Linked DNA regions of Homo sapiens: regions 1, 2 and 3 are each linked to region 4. Evidence: promoter capture Hi-C in human tissues and cell types (Jung and others, 2019). All regions are on one chromosome and are shown on one strand. Each heading gives the region's core, a stretch centred on a gene start or on the middle of the fragment in contact. The rest is flanking DNA. Distances are from core to core; before and after follow the strand shown. Region 1 has its middle 74 kb from the start of PCDH17. Region 2 has its middle 390 kb from the start of PRR20A. Region 3 overlaps LOC105370217 (a long non-coding RNA gene). Region 4 holds the start of PRR20A (proline rich 20A).

Region 1 (2,890 bases), core at 66-2,565, 420 kb before region 4:
CTTAAATTTAACTTTAATTGCAAACTATTAAAGGAAATAGTATTTTTAAATATGAAGGAAAATTTTTATGATAGTCAAATCATTATTCAATCTAAAGGAAGAAATGTATTTATAATGTATATTATACACACATACACATGCACACCTATATATAACATATATTATATATACAGTAGTTCCTTTTATCCATGGGGGATATGTTCCAAGACCTTCAGCAAATGCCTGAAACAATGGATAGTATTGAATCCTATATATATTATGTTTTTTTAAAACATACTTACCTGTTGTAAAGTTTATAAATTAGGGATAGTAAGAGAGTAATAATAACTAATAATAAAATAGAAAAGCTGTAACAATATACTACAATAAAAATTATGCAAATGTGTTTTCTCTCTCTCAAAATATCTTATTGTAACGTACTAACCTATTTTAAGACAGTGGTTTATCACGGGTGACAAACTGTGGAAGCCAAATTGTGGATTGGGAGAACTATTGTATGTGTGTGTATGGGTGTGTGTGTGTGATTAATTTCAAAGTAATAGTGTGATATTAAGGGATATAAATTTATGTAATATTGATATCTCTGATGTAATCTGTATTCTGGAAATGTCCTTAGATAATAATGACAGGTGACTAACAACAAAAATTATTTTAACTATAATGACTTATAATGGTCACAATAATAAAAAATGGTTCTTCCTGCTTGCTATTTCCAGTTCAAAATATTATATGCCCCCTATAGAAAAACTAAAGAAAACAAATTTACTTATTGTCAAGCGATCATATTTTCAAAGTAGAATACGGGACTTGAAAATTTGAAAATATGTCCAAAAGCAAAGAGGAAATATTGTAAAACAGAGTAATGTTTTATAAATAGAAATTATAGATCACACTCCGGATAATGTAAAGTGTTTAATTTAAAATCTTAATAAATTCTTGCATTAATATATATCATACATATTTTATCTTTGCCCCAGAAACCAGCACAGTGCAATAGAACTTTCTGGCTATTGAAGCTTTAATTTTAATTTAATAATTCACATGTGAATTGTGGCTACTATATTGGAGAACACATTTATAGATCCTTTTCTGTTTAAGATAAATGTAGACACTGTAATTGCAGTGGAAACAGGAGAGTGACTCATGTACTCAAGAAACTATTGACTGAGTAAAGTATTGTGAGTCCTAGATTAGCCATGTTGATCTAAATTACTTCTCTTTTGGTGAGAAGGCTCACCAAGTGCGCTTTACTGTGACAATGCAAGAAATCATGTTATTACTTTTATTGACCACGAGGAGGCACTGATTTGATAACACTCGAGGAACACCGAAAGAAAAACCACTCTGTAAAATAAACATGCCAGGTTAAAGCATCCTGACATTGATCAAGCAAGAATAAAGATAAGTAGAGCTTGTTTGACCATTCACTCTATGTTTCAGTGAATACTGTAAGTGAGCCAGAAATAAAGGCCTTAAATAACATGTGTGTTCAGACAAGCAATCCTCCTACAGTATTTCTGCTTTGAATGCTTCTCATGAACATGATAGGCAGGAAGCCATGGCAACTAGAAAGATGTAAAAGGCATCAGACAGCAAAGCTAAGCCACTCCTCGGCTATGACAATTACTATATTTGCATTTTCCTCATTTACCGAAATTAAAGCCTTTCAAATTCATTTGTGTAGCCTTTTTTTTATTAGTACCTTTAAAAAAAAAAAAAAGAGCACAACCCTGGAACACCGGGGGAAAGAAAAAAGAAAAAAAAAGGCATATACCAATTTGGTCTTACTTTATATTCTGTTTTCACAAATAATTCCTAAAGGAAAAGAAAGCCATTGAACAAATACTATTTTAGTTGATACTAGTTTCTAAAAGTAATGCATATTTTGCACAAAATGCTATTCATAATAATAAACATCAAAATGTCTGTTAACTATAGTTTGGAATTGTTTTAATTCTTTCTTCACATAATTTAACAAATGCTTGAGTGGCCATAAACTCAGACTTATAAAACTAAACCTAGCAAAGAAAATAAATCAAAGATGTAGAATATTATAGAAACGTTTATCTTCTATCTCCAGTCTTTACTTTTCCCCACTCAATTCATAATTCAAAGCAACATATTGACCTACTCAACCCCTATTTTAGATAAGGCTGATTTCTGACACAGTAGAAGCCCAAATTAATTTATTTTGGAAAGATTTTGTTCTATATTATATATTATATTTGAAGATTACTACTATAGTATTCTCAGTTTAGAACAGAAATAAACTAATGGCATACAAATTAAAAACTACAATCTTTGCTCCAAATGTGAAAGGAGCCAGCTGCTGGTGTGAAGATTGTTGACCCTAGCCTTTTCATTCTTCCTTAACTGAAGGAACATTTACCATTGCCCATTGTTAATTAATTATAATTTCCTGTTCTCATCAGAAATAATAGAAATGTGTCTTTGATGAAGAACTTTAATATATGATCCAATACCCTGAAAGTTTTTACCTGAGGAAGAACCCAGATTTTGTCTGTTTCAAGGGTAAATATAGTAGAGTAATTAAAATATGATCTTTGAATTCAGTTTGCCGAGGTCTGCTACCAGCACACTTTGTTTAGTTATACTAGCTTTCCCTGTACATAATGAAGGCTCTAATCTCATCCACTTTATAAGTTTCTAGATGAGAATTCACCTGGATTGTCTGGCACACAGTAAGCCCTTGAGAAGTGTTAGCTGCTGTCTGCATCGTATCCCTGTCATTATATTGTCATCATCCTCATCTTCATCAAAGTAATTTTCAGTCACTTTAGTTCATAAAAAGGGTCTCATTGACTATCTCAGTTATTTTCAGTAAGTTGGCAGTAGAACAATAGAAAGAAATTGATATAAGTACTTTTAC
Region 2 (3,026 bases), core at 15-2,514, 390 kb after region 4:
AAAAAAAAATCCATCCCGTGTAATTTTATTGCTCTAAAGTTTATATTTGACACCCTTGTAGAGAACAGGAAGGAAATTATGTGGTGAGAAACTGTAATGGTTTGTATGTTTTTATCTATCTGATGTTTCATGTGTGGATATTAGTGGATGCAATTCTTTCAGTCAACTTTCCTTCCTGCTGCGAAGAACTGGAAGGGGTCTATGTGAGAGTAGAACTGTAAGTAATACTTAAAAGAAAATGAAAATTAATTCCTATTGAAATTGTTAATTAGGAAATTCTGAGAAGTGTGTTTATTTTTCTTGTTTATTCAATGGCCTGAGATTAGTTGAATTATTGTATTCTAAATTATGTAGCCACAATTAATAATAAAAGTAGCTATTTTTTTTTTTTTTGAGATAGTGTCTCCCTCTCTTGCCTAGGCTGGAGTGCAGTGGTATGATCTTCGCTCGCTGCAGCCTCCCTCTGCCTCCCAGGTTCAAGCAATTCTCCTGCCTCAGCCTCCCCAGTACCTGAGACTACAGTCTCACGCCACTGCGTCCAGCTAATTTTTGCATTTTTAGTAGACACGGGGTTTTGCCATGTTGGCCAGTCTGGTCTTGAGCTCCTGACCCCACGTGATCCACCCGCCTCAGCCTTGAAAAGAGCTGGGACTACAGGCCTGAGCCACTGCGCCCAGCCAATATTTTTTGAGTATTCATTTTAATCTGGCCACTGTGCTAAGAGCTTCACATAGATTATTTCAATTATTACTACAGCCTTAGTGGTAGGGAGCAATTTTATCAAAACTCTGTAGATAAAAACAGTAAAGCTTGAGAACTTAAGTAACTTTCCCAAAGTCACAGTTAGTAAATATCAGGAACAGAGAGGGATTCAAATCCCCATAGCAGTCTACAGTTTACATTTTCCTTGTTAGAAGTCTGTAGCAGCCACATACATCTCTGCATTATTCACAGTGGTCCCTTTAACAGATGAAGCCAACATTATTGCTAGCTCTCTGTGAGGGTAAGAAATGGCTCCCTAAGAGTGGTTTCCAGGCCAGCAGCAGCTGCTCCACCTGGGAATTTGTTAGGAATGCAAGCTCTCAGGCTACCACCCCAAAGCAAGTGAATCAAGAGCTCAGGCTGCTGGCTGAACTAATCTAGCATGATTCAGAAACACAACAAAATCTAGGAATTTCTGGTGTAGGTTATGGTCACAGTTCCTGAAGTCATTTGATTTGTTCCACTGATCGTCTAAGACAGGGTTACTCAACAGGTAAGAACTTTGGATTCTGTGATTGGACATTTAATTCCCACACAGGAAAGCCCTATTACAGTATTGTTACACATGAAGATCAATACTTAAATTAATCTGATCTCATTTTCACGGAATCATTTAGATATTCTTAAAATTTCATGAACTGTTAATACTGTTCTCATCCGCTATCTGGTGCTGATAGTAAAAATTACCTGGCTTAAAAAAACTCTTGTCATTTCAATGAAAGAAGATGTCAAGTGATAATTATAAGTTCTCTGATAAATATAAACGCTCTTTGTTCCTCTCCCTTTTCTATGACACCATAATCATTCTGCAACATTCCCCTGGCGCTCCTCATTGGACCTTACTTTTAAAGAAGGCTCTTCTATACAATTTTATACTCTATTTTCTCTAAACAGAATTTACAGCCCAGATGGTACTCTAAGCTTTGTGAACAACTCCAGTCAATATCTAATAAACAAGGATTATTATTTTAAAAGAGTTATGAGAAAGTTTGAAATCCATCCTGTATGGTTACTGCTGGTATCTTTCAGACAGTTCTGTGGGCTAGTTAAACTGGCAAAGCCTTAGGATAGACTTAGATTCTTACCTGCTCAGAGTATTCCCATTTTAGAAGACAAAGTTTTCAGGATGTGATCATTTTCCACTCCCAGGAAATCACTTTTCCTTGAAAAATCTGCCTATTATTTATAATAAGTTGAAAGAAACTAGGAACAAATACCATTAAAATACTATTATATGTTATAATGTATCCATTGTTCTCATACCCTAATTTTTATATGATGTGTTCTCTTTTCTCTCCTTACCAATATTTCTCTTAAAAAAAATCGGTTGTTCTTGTTAGAAAATATGTGTCAATGAAAAATGTTTCAAAATAGCCTATTTGGGGCTTGACCAGGAATATAGTATAATATTTTTGTTCCTTTGCATAGAAAGCTTTGCTTTGTTTGTAAGGTATACACAGGTATGCCCTACAGTGGACTGCAACCCAGTTATTGACAAACTGATTCCAGCCAAATTTATATGTCAATTCTGTTAGCATTACATCTCAGTGTAAATTTACATTGTTCATGTCTACCCTACTAGTTGCTAAAATGTTTTAAAGCAATCATGAGACTATATAATGAGTGCTACTTGTCTTTTATGTCTTAAAAATGTTTATAAAGATAGATATAACATTGTTAGTAGAGAAATTTTTGCTCACTGAGTAAATCACAGCCATCAATAACAGGCTGACTTGGTTTTGATATGCTGAGAAATTCAATCTCAGAGCACTCTTCACACTGTAAATAACTGATTAAAAAACATTTCACTTAAGACTGTAAAATACAAAGAAAAATAACTGTTGGTTTAAATAAAATGTGCAAATTTTTATTTCTGCTATGGCAAGTACCATAAAAACCTCTGTCATGTGCTGTGATTAACATAAAATGGGATTGCAGGCCTGGCGCGGTGGCTCAAGCCTGTAATCCCAGCACTTTGGGAGGCCAAGGCAGGTGGATCATGAGGTCAGGAGTTCGAGACCAGCCTGGCCAACACGGTGAAACCCCGTCTCCACTAAAAGTACAAAAATTAGCTGGGCATGGTGGCGCGTGCCTGTAGTCCCAGCTACTCGGGTGGCTGAGGCAGGAGAAGTGCTTGATCCCAGGAGGTGGGGGTTGCAGTGAGCCAAGATCACACGATTACACTACAGCCTGGGTAACAGAGAAAGACTCCGTCTCAAACAAACAAACAAACAAACAACAACAACAACAAACAGGAATGCGCT
Region 3 (2,818 bases), core at 52-2,551, 340 kb before region 4:
TTGTTTGTGTCCTCTATTATTTCGTTGAGCAGTGGTTTGTAGTTCTTCTTGAAGAGGTTCTTCTCATTCCCTGTAAGTTGTATTCCTAGGTATTTTATTCTCTTAGTAGCAATTGTGAATGCGAGTTCACTCATGATTTGGCTCTCTGTTTGTCTGTTATTGGTGTATAGGAGCGCTTGTGATTTTTGCACATCGATTTTGTATCCTGAGACTTTGCTGAAGTTGCTTATCAGCTTAAGGAGATTTTGGGCTGAGACGATGGGGTTTTCTAGGTATACAATCATGTCATCTGCAAACAGAGACAATTTGACTTCCTCTCTTCCCATCTGAATACGCTTTCTTTCTTTCTCTTGCCTGATTACCCTGGCCAGAACTTCCGATACTATGTTGAATAGGAGTGGTGAGAGAGGGCTTCCTTGTCTTGTGCTGGTTTTCAAAGGGAATGTTTCCAGCTTTTACCCATTCAGTATGATATTGGATGTGGTTTTGTCATAAGTAGCTCTTATTATTTTGAGATACATTCCATTGGTACCCAGTTTATTGAGAGTTTTTAGTATGAAGGGGTGTTGAATTTCGTAAAAGGCCTTTTCTGCATCTATTGAGGTAATCATATGGTTTCTGTCATTGGTTCTGTTTATGTAATGGATTACATTTATTGATTTGCATATGTTGAACCTGCCTTGCATCCCAGGTATGAAGCACACTTGATCTTGGTGGATAAGCTTTTTGATGTGCTGCTAGATTTGGTTTGCCAGTATTTTGTTGAGGACTTTTGCACCTGTGTTCATAAGGGATATTTGCCTGAAATTTTCTTTTTTTTGTTGTGTCTCTGCCAGGTTTTGGTATCAGGATGATGCTGTTCTCTTTCTCTTGTTCATCTTGGATTTTCTTTTTGTGTATACTAGCCGACTTAATGGTGGTCCATAGTTTTTTGGTTTCTTCACTCTTTCTTTTCTTTTTCTCATTGCTTCTTTTTGAGTCCATGAATTCTTTCCTCTGTTTGGTCAACTCTGCTACTGCTGAACCACTTTATATCTTTAAGGTCCTAGGCTCAAAATATCTTTATGATTTCATGTTTTTGGTTGAAGTTATCATTTTTACATGCATTGTTTTCCTGAGCTCATCAATTGTCTTTATAATCATTATTTCGAATTTGTTGTCAGGTAATTTATATACCTCTGTTTTTAAGGATTGGTTTTGAGAGATTTATTTTTCCCTTGGATTGGGCCATTTTATATATATATATTTTTAACTGATCCTTATAAGTTTGTTTTGAAATCTGGGAGTGGTGGTCTATGCCTGTAGTCCCAACTTCTCAAGAGACTGAGGCAACAGGATCACCTGAGCCTAAGGGTTTGAGTCCAGCCTGGGCAACTTAGCTCCATCTCTGAAAATGTTGATATGCACACATTTGAAAAAAATATCTCTTCTCCCAGTCTTTATGGACTGGGTTTGTACAGGAGAAGACCTTTTACTAATTAGCCTAGCTACAAATCCCAAGGTCTTCTTAAAACTTTTCTGTGGGTATGTCTTCTTTGGTCTTGTGCATATATATTTTAATTAAAATAATTTTTTCTAGGAACTTGTAATTTCTTACTCCCTCTGATGTAAGTCTGCTCTTCCATGTAAACTTGGAAGCAGCAGTATGCCAACCAGCTCTTTTAAAATATTTTTTCTCAATAGCCCCTTGGAATCTAGTATATGCCAAGTTCCCGTAAGTGTCTTGGGTTGAGCTACATGGAAACTGATCTCTTAGGAAGCCCCCAAAATACTGGCCTTTTGAACATTTGCTACACCCTTCTTTTTCCCCCTGAAGGAGAAGTCACCACACTGTAAAAGCTTCTGTCTGCTGTACTGAAGATTCTATGGAGCAGTAACATGCTGAACAACTTTATTTGTCGTTGTTGTTCTCAGTGTTCTCCAGGCATCTAAAGAATGCTAGGTTATGTCAGTGCTTTGCAACAGGTTGAACAGAAGACAGTACCTTGTACAGCCCCCTCAAAAGTTCAGAACATTGGATGCATATTCTAACCTTCCACTATTCTTCCCCAGGAAAAAGCCAGGACCTGAGTTCCTCTGAATTGTGCATCTTTTTTTTCTGTGAAAGTGACTATAGCCAGAGGGTGCCACAAATTTTTCTTCTGTTTTGATACAACTAGTTAATGTTTGTTTTTGATGCAGAAGCCTCTTATCTGGTTTTTGGATGTCTCACAAAGGAAACTGGTCTATGGATTGTTGTTGAATGTGTGTCTTCATGAAAAGAAAGAGGGCCTGGAGCTTCCTATTTTAACCATCTCGCTGATGTAACTCGAAGTATCCCTTATAGCTGAAATAGTACTATCTGGTACAGAGACTTCAGTAAATTGGAAAACCAAATATCTCCAGAATAGGTTATAGTTTTATATAAAGACAAGAAATACAATAAAGTGTTGAAGCACGAGGTTAAACAAAAAATATTTTGATACTGAGATAGCTTGACTGGAAACTCTTCTCACAATTTTTTTTTTCATTTTGAACTTCCTGATGAATGCAGATAAATCTTTGGAGATTTAGCAACATGAGAAAAAAAATGTTTACCAGCTTCATAATCTCCAAGTAAATAATGTCATAGCATGTTAATTTAAAGTAAAAATGCAAATATGTTGTTCAAGTAGATAGCTTATTTTCCCCAGATAATGTACTTTGAAAAGATATTTTAGCTCAGCTGTATTTTAAGAATTTGTCTACGTGGGGAGATAATGCTCTTTCATAGATGCAACTGGTATGCTATCTGTTTTCATGCATTTTATGAAGTATCTTCTACCTTTGTTATCCTTCT
Region 4 (3,109 bases), core at 308-2,807:
TTTGCGGGTTGGGCTGGCTGTGCGGGCCCATCTGCTTCCACGGAGCCTTCAGGGTCCGCAACACAGCAGCCTGGCTCTGGAGGAGGCCCACCTGAGGCTAAAAGAGAAGCGGAGCGTGAGCAGAGAGAGACAGAAGGAACTTCACCCGTCAAGCAGTTATAGGATACTTTTACAAATAAATACTCAGAGAAAAGAGGGATTTCTGAAGTTAAAATTGTGAGAGAAGAAACAAAACTCTCCACGGAAGTTGGAGAATGAAGTTGAGAAGGTCTCCCACAGAACAAAGCAAAAACCTAAAATGATGGAAAGAAGGATGAAATATAAGAGAATTAGAGGTATGCTGTGGCTGAGACATTTCACCAGAAAATTTCAGAGTGCTGAGGAAAAAGAGAAGATTCTAACAGATTCTAGAGAGCGGGAGACAGAGAAAGGAAAAGTCACATGGAAAGGGCTAGGATTCCACATGTCTCAAAAGTCAGACATCTCAAAAGCAGCAGTTCAGTCTAGAACATAACAGAAAATGTCTTCGAAATTTCAAGGGAAATGAATTTCCCACCTAAAATTTCCTGTCCAACCGAAGTTTCGCTGAAGAATCTGGGAGGGGAGAATGAAGATGTTTCAGACAAGCAAGATGTTAAAGAATTTCCTTTCAGTGGATGCTTTATTGTTATGCATCTGTCAAACTAGACAAGATTAAAAGATTTAGGACACTCAGCGTATGAAGGGAAAAGTTTTGGAGAACAACGTGGCAACAGCCGGAAAATTCCAACTCCTCCGGGAAAGAACAAGGTGGAAGTACCGGTTTATCATAGATCAAGACGTAGCGTGAGGACTCGCTCTGCTACGGAGAAACAGTAATACAAAACTAAACAGAAGGAAACAGCGACAACAACAGCAAATCTCAGATTTGGGAAATGGGATTACGGTTCGGAAGAGGGAAAGGAATTTCCCAGATGATGTGGAACCCGGGAGCTGACTTCCAACAAGCAGCCCAGGTTGAGGCAGGCTAGGAGAAGGTGAAACAGAGAATGCTTGATTGAGTTTGAGTGTCAACCATTGGGGAAGAATTGGGGAACAGACGAAATTAAAAAGAGAGGAGTGGCAGGCGTTTGATGTACCTTGATTAGGGGCCATGGAGCGAAGTCGCTTCGAAGGCCTTGGTTCCTCCATGAGCAATCGGCGGGAGGGGCTGGGGAGAAAAACAAGAGAGCAAGAACGGATTTAGGAAGACAGAGGTGACAAGGCAGGGGGATGGCCGTGGCCTTTCTAGGGGAATGAGGATTCTGTCCCCAACTGCACCCACCCGAGATCCGTCCACGCCTCCGGGACCCCCAGACACACACCTGATCTTCCCACAGCTGGCTCCGGAGATCTGAAAATTAGGAGACTCTTCGACGAAGAGAGGCCCGAGGAGTCGGAGGTGTCCACAGGTTCACCGCTGTAGCTCTGAGGTAGTCCACCCGCAGCCAGGGAGTCTGGAGGGAGCACGCAGCAGGTTCTGGCTCCGAGCCCAGCAGAAAGCCGACTGCTGGAGGCCGAGCGCCGTCCCTCTTATATGGCAGCAAGGCAGTCGCGTAAGGGACAGGCGTCGTCAGAGGGGGGCCGGCTGGGGCGGGCCTGGCTGGGCTTGCGAGGCGCATTGGGCCAGTCCCCTGCCAGTCAAATGGGGGCCCTTCTGAGATGCCGCCATTTCTAGACGTCCGTGGTTGATTGATTAATCTAATCATCGAGGAAAAAAAATTGCATAATGACCTCTGAGTGTCAGCACAATGAGGTGTGGTGCCCTGAAAGCGGCTGACAGGAAGATGCGATTAGCTTAGATCTGAGCATGGTCAAGGAAAGCATCCAAAGCGGGGATATCTGGGCTGAAATCTGGAACATAACGTTTGAAATTAGTCATCCTGAACCGGGTTGGGAGAGGCAGGGAGGGAGGAAGGGGAGTGAAGAGAGTGTGCTGAGGCCCGGACTGGAAGGGAGCCCGGCACATTCTGGGAATGGACGGGAGGCCAAGTCCAGGCCCGGAGGTGGTGCGTGTGAGACGGGGCTGGAGATGCGTGTGAGACCCACACCGCTGGCTTTTATTGCTGTGGGTGCACTCACGGGTGGAGGAAGACAGCGGGAAACACAGCAGGACGCTGGAGGGGATCCCACAGTGGGTTATTTGGTTGGTTTGCATCCTTGTGTTTTTTACAGAGACTGGTTCTCGCTCTGTAGCCCAGGCTGGAGTGCAGCGGTGCCATCTCGGCTCGCTGCGGCTACTTGGGGGGGTTGGGGGGGGGTGGCTGAGATAGGAGAATCAGTTCAAGTGATTCTCCTGTCTCGGCCTCCGGAGTAGCTGGACTACAGGTGAGCGCCACCACATCGGGATAATTTTCGGATTTTTTTGGAGAGACGAGTTTTCGCTATGTGCCCAGGCTTGTTTGGAAGGCCTGAGCTCAAGCCGTCCGTCCCGCTCAACCTCCCGAGTCGCTGGGACCCCAGGCGCAAGCCACCATGCCGGGCCAATTACTTTTTTGGGTTGTATTTCCTGTTGAAGTGAGGTTTTGCTATGCTTTCACCTCACATACCTTTTCTGTCCCAAGACCCCATCCAGGGTACCACCTTACAACTCGTCACGGTTCCCCTTGGCTGCGACGGTTTCTCACACTTGCCTTGTTTTTGATGACTCTGACACTTTGAATACTGATCAGATATATTGTGGGATGTCCTCTCCTGAAGTTCGTGTGATGTATTCCTTGTGATCTGACTGGAATTATATGTTTTTGTCAGGAAGATTGCAGCGGGAAAGCGCCATTCCCATCCCATCCTGTCTAGAGTACACACCATCAAGCCGGCTTATCACTGCTGCTATTAGTCCTGGTCACCGGGCTGGGGCAGTGTTGATTAGGTTTCTCCACCATAAAGTGATTTTCCCACCTCTTTCTCTACTGTGCTTTCTGGAAGTCGCTACCTGTAGCCTATACGTAAAGAAAAGGGAAGTTTTGCTTTATCTCCTTGCAGGGGAATAGCTACCTAAGTTCTGTGGAGTTCTCCTGTGTGGAGGATTTTCCCATTCTCCCCCACATGTTTGTTTATTTAATCACTTATTTATATCCGTATGGACTTATGG

Evidence for each region. The method cuts DNA at HindIII sites, captures the fragments that hold promoters and counts their contacts. A contact is called where the count stands out against the background at its distance.
Region 1: a contact is called between a fragment that was not itself captured here and the fragment with the promoter of PRR20A in region 4, in 4 of the 25 tissues and cell types used here (H1 embryonic stem cells, dorsolateral prefrontal cortex, mesendoderm cells and 1 more).
Region 2: a contact is called between a fragment that was not itself captured here and the fragment with the promoter of PRR20A in region 4, in 5 of the 25 tissues and cell types used here (IMR-90 fibroblasts, liver, mesenchymal stem cells and 2 more).
Region 3: a fragment that was not itself captured here is called in contact with the fragment with the promoter of PRR20A in region 4 in 4 of the 25 tissues and cell types used here (dorsolateral prefrontal cortex, mesendoderm cells, spleen and 1 more).

What each region holds. Positions count from the first base shown.
Region 1 is chr13:57,556,761-57,559,650 of GRCh38, reverse strand. No RefSeq gene overlaps it. Among named protein-coding and RNA genes, the nearest start is that of PCDH17, 74 kb to the left of the region's middle. The HindIII fragment of the contact is 7,029 bases long and covers 1-2,890 here.
Region 2 is chr13:56,750,863-56,753,888 of GRCh38, reverse strand. No RefSeq gene overlaps it. Among named protein-coding and RNA genes, the nearest start is that of PRR20A, 390 kb to the left of the region's middle. The HindIII fragment of the contact is 4,600 bases long and covers 1-3,026 here.
Region 3 is chr13:57,475,479-57,478,296 of GRCh38, reverse strand. The region is part of intron 2 of LOC105370217 (a long non-coding RNA gene); the gene reads left to right. Among named protein-coding and RNA genes, the nearest start is that of PCDH17, 150 kb to the left of the region's middle. The HindIII fragment of the contact is 3,528 bases long and covers 1-2,818 here.
Region 4 is chr13:57,139,366-57,142,474 of GRCh38, reverse strand. PRR20A (proline rich 20A) reads right to left here and starts at 1,557. Exons shown (of 3, transcript NM_198441.2): 1 at 1,344-1,557; 2 at 1,119-1,189; 3 at 1-97. The coding sequence starts at 1,170. The HindIII fragment of the contact is 47,953 bases long and covers 1-3,109 here.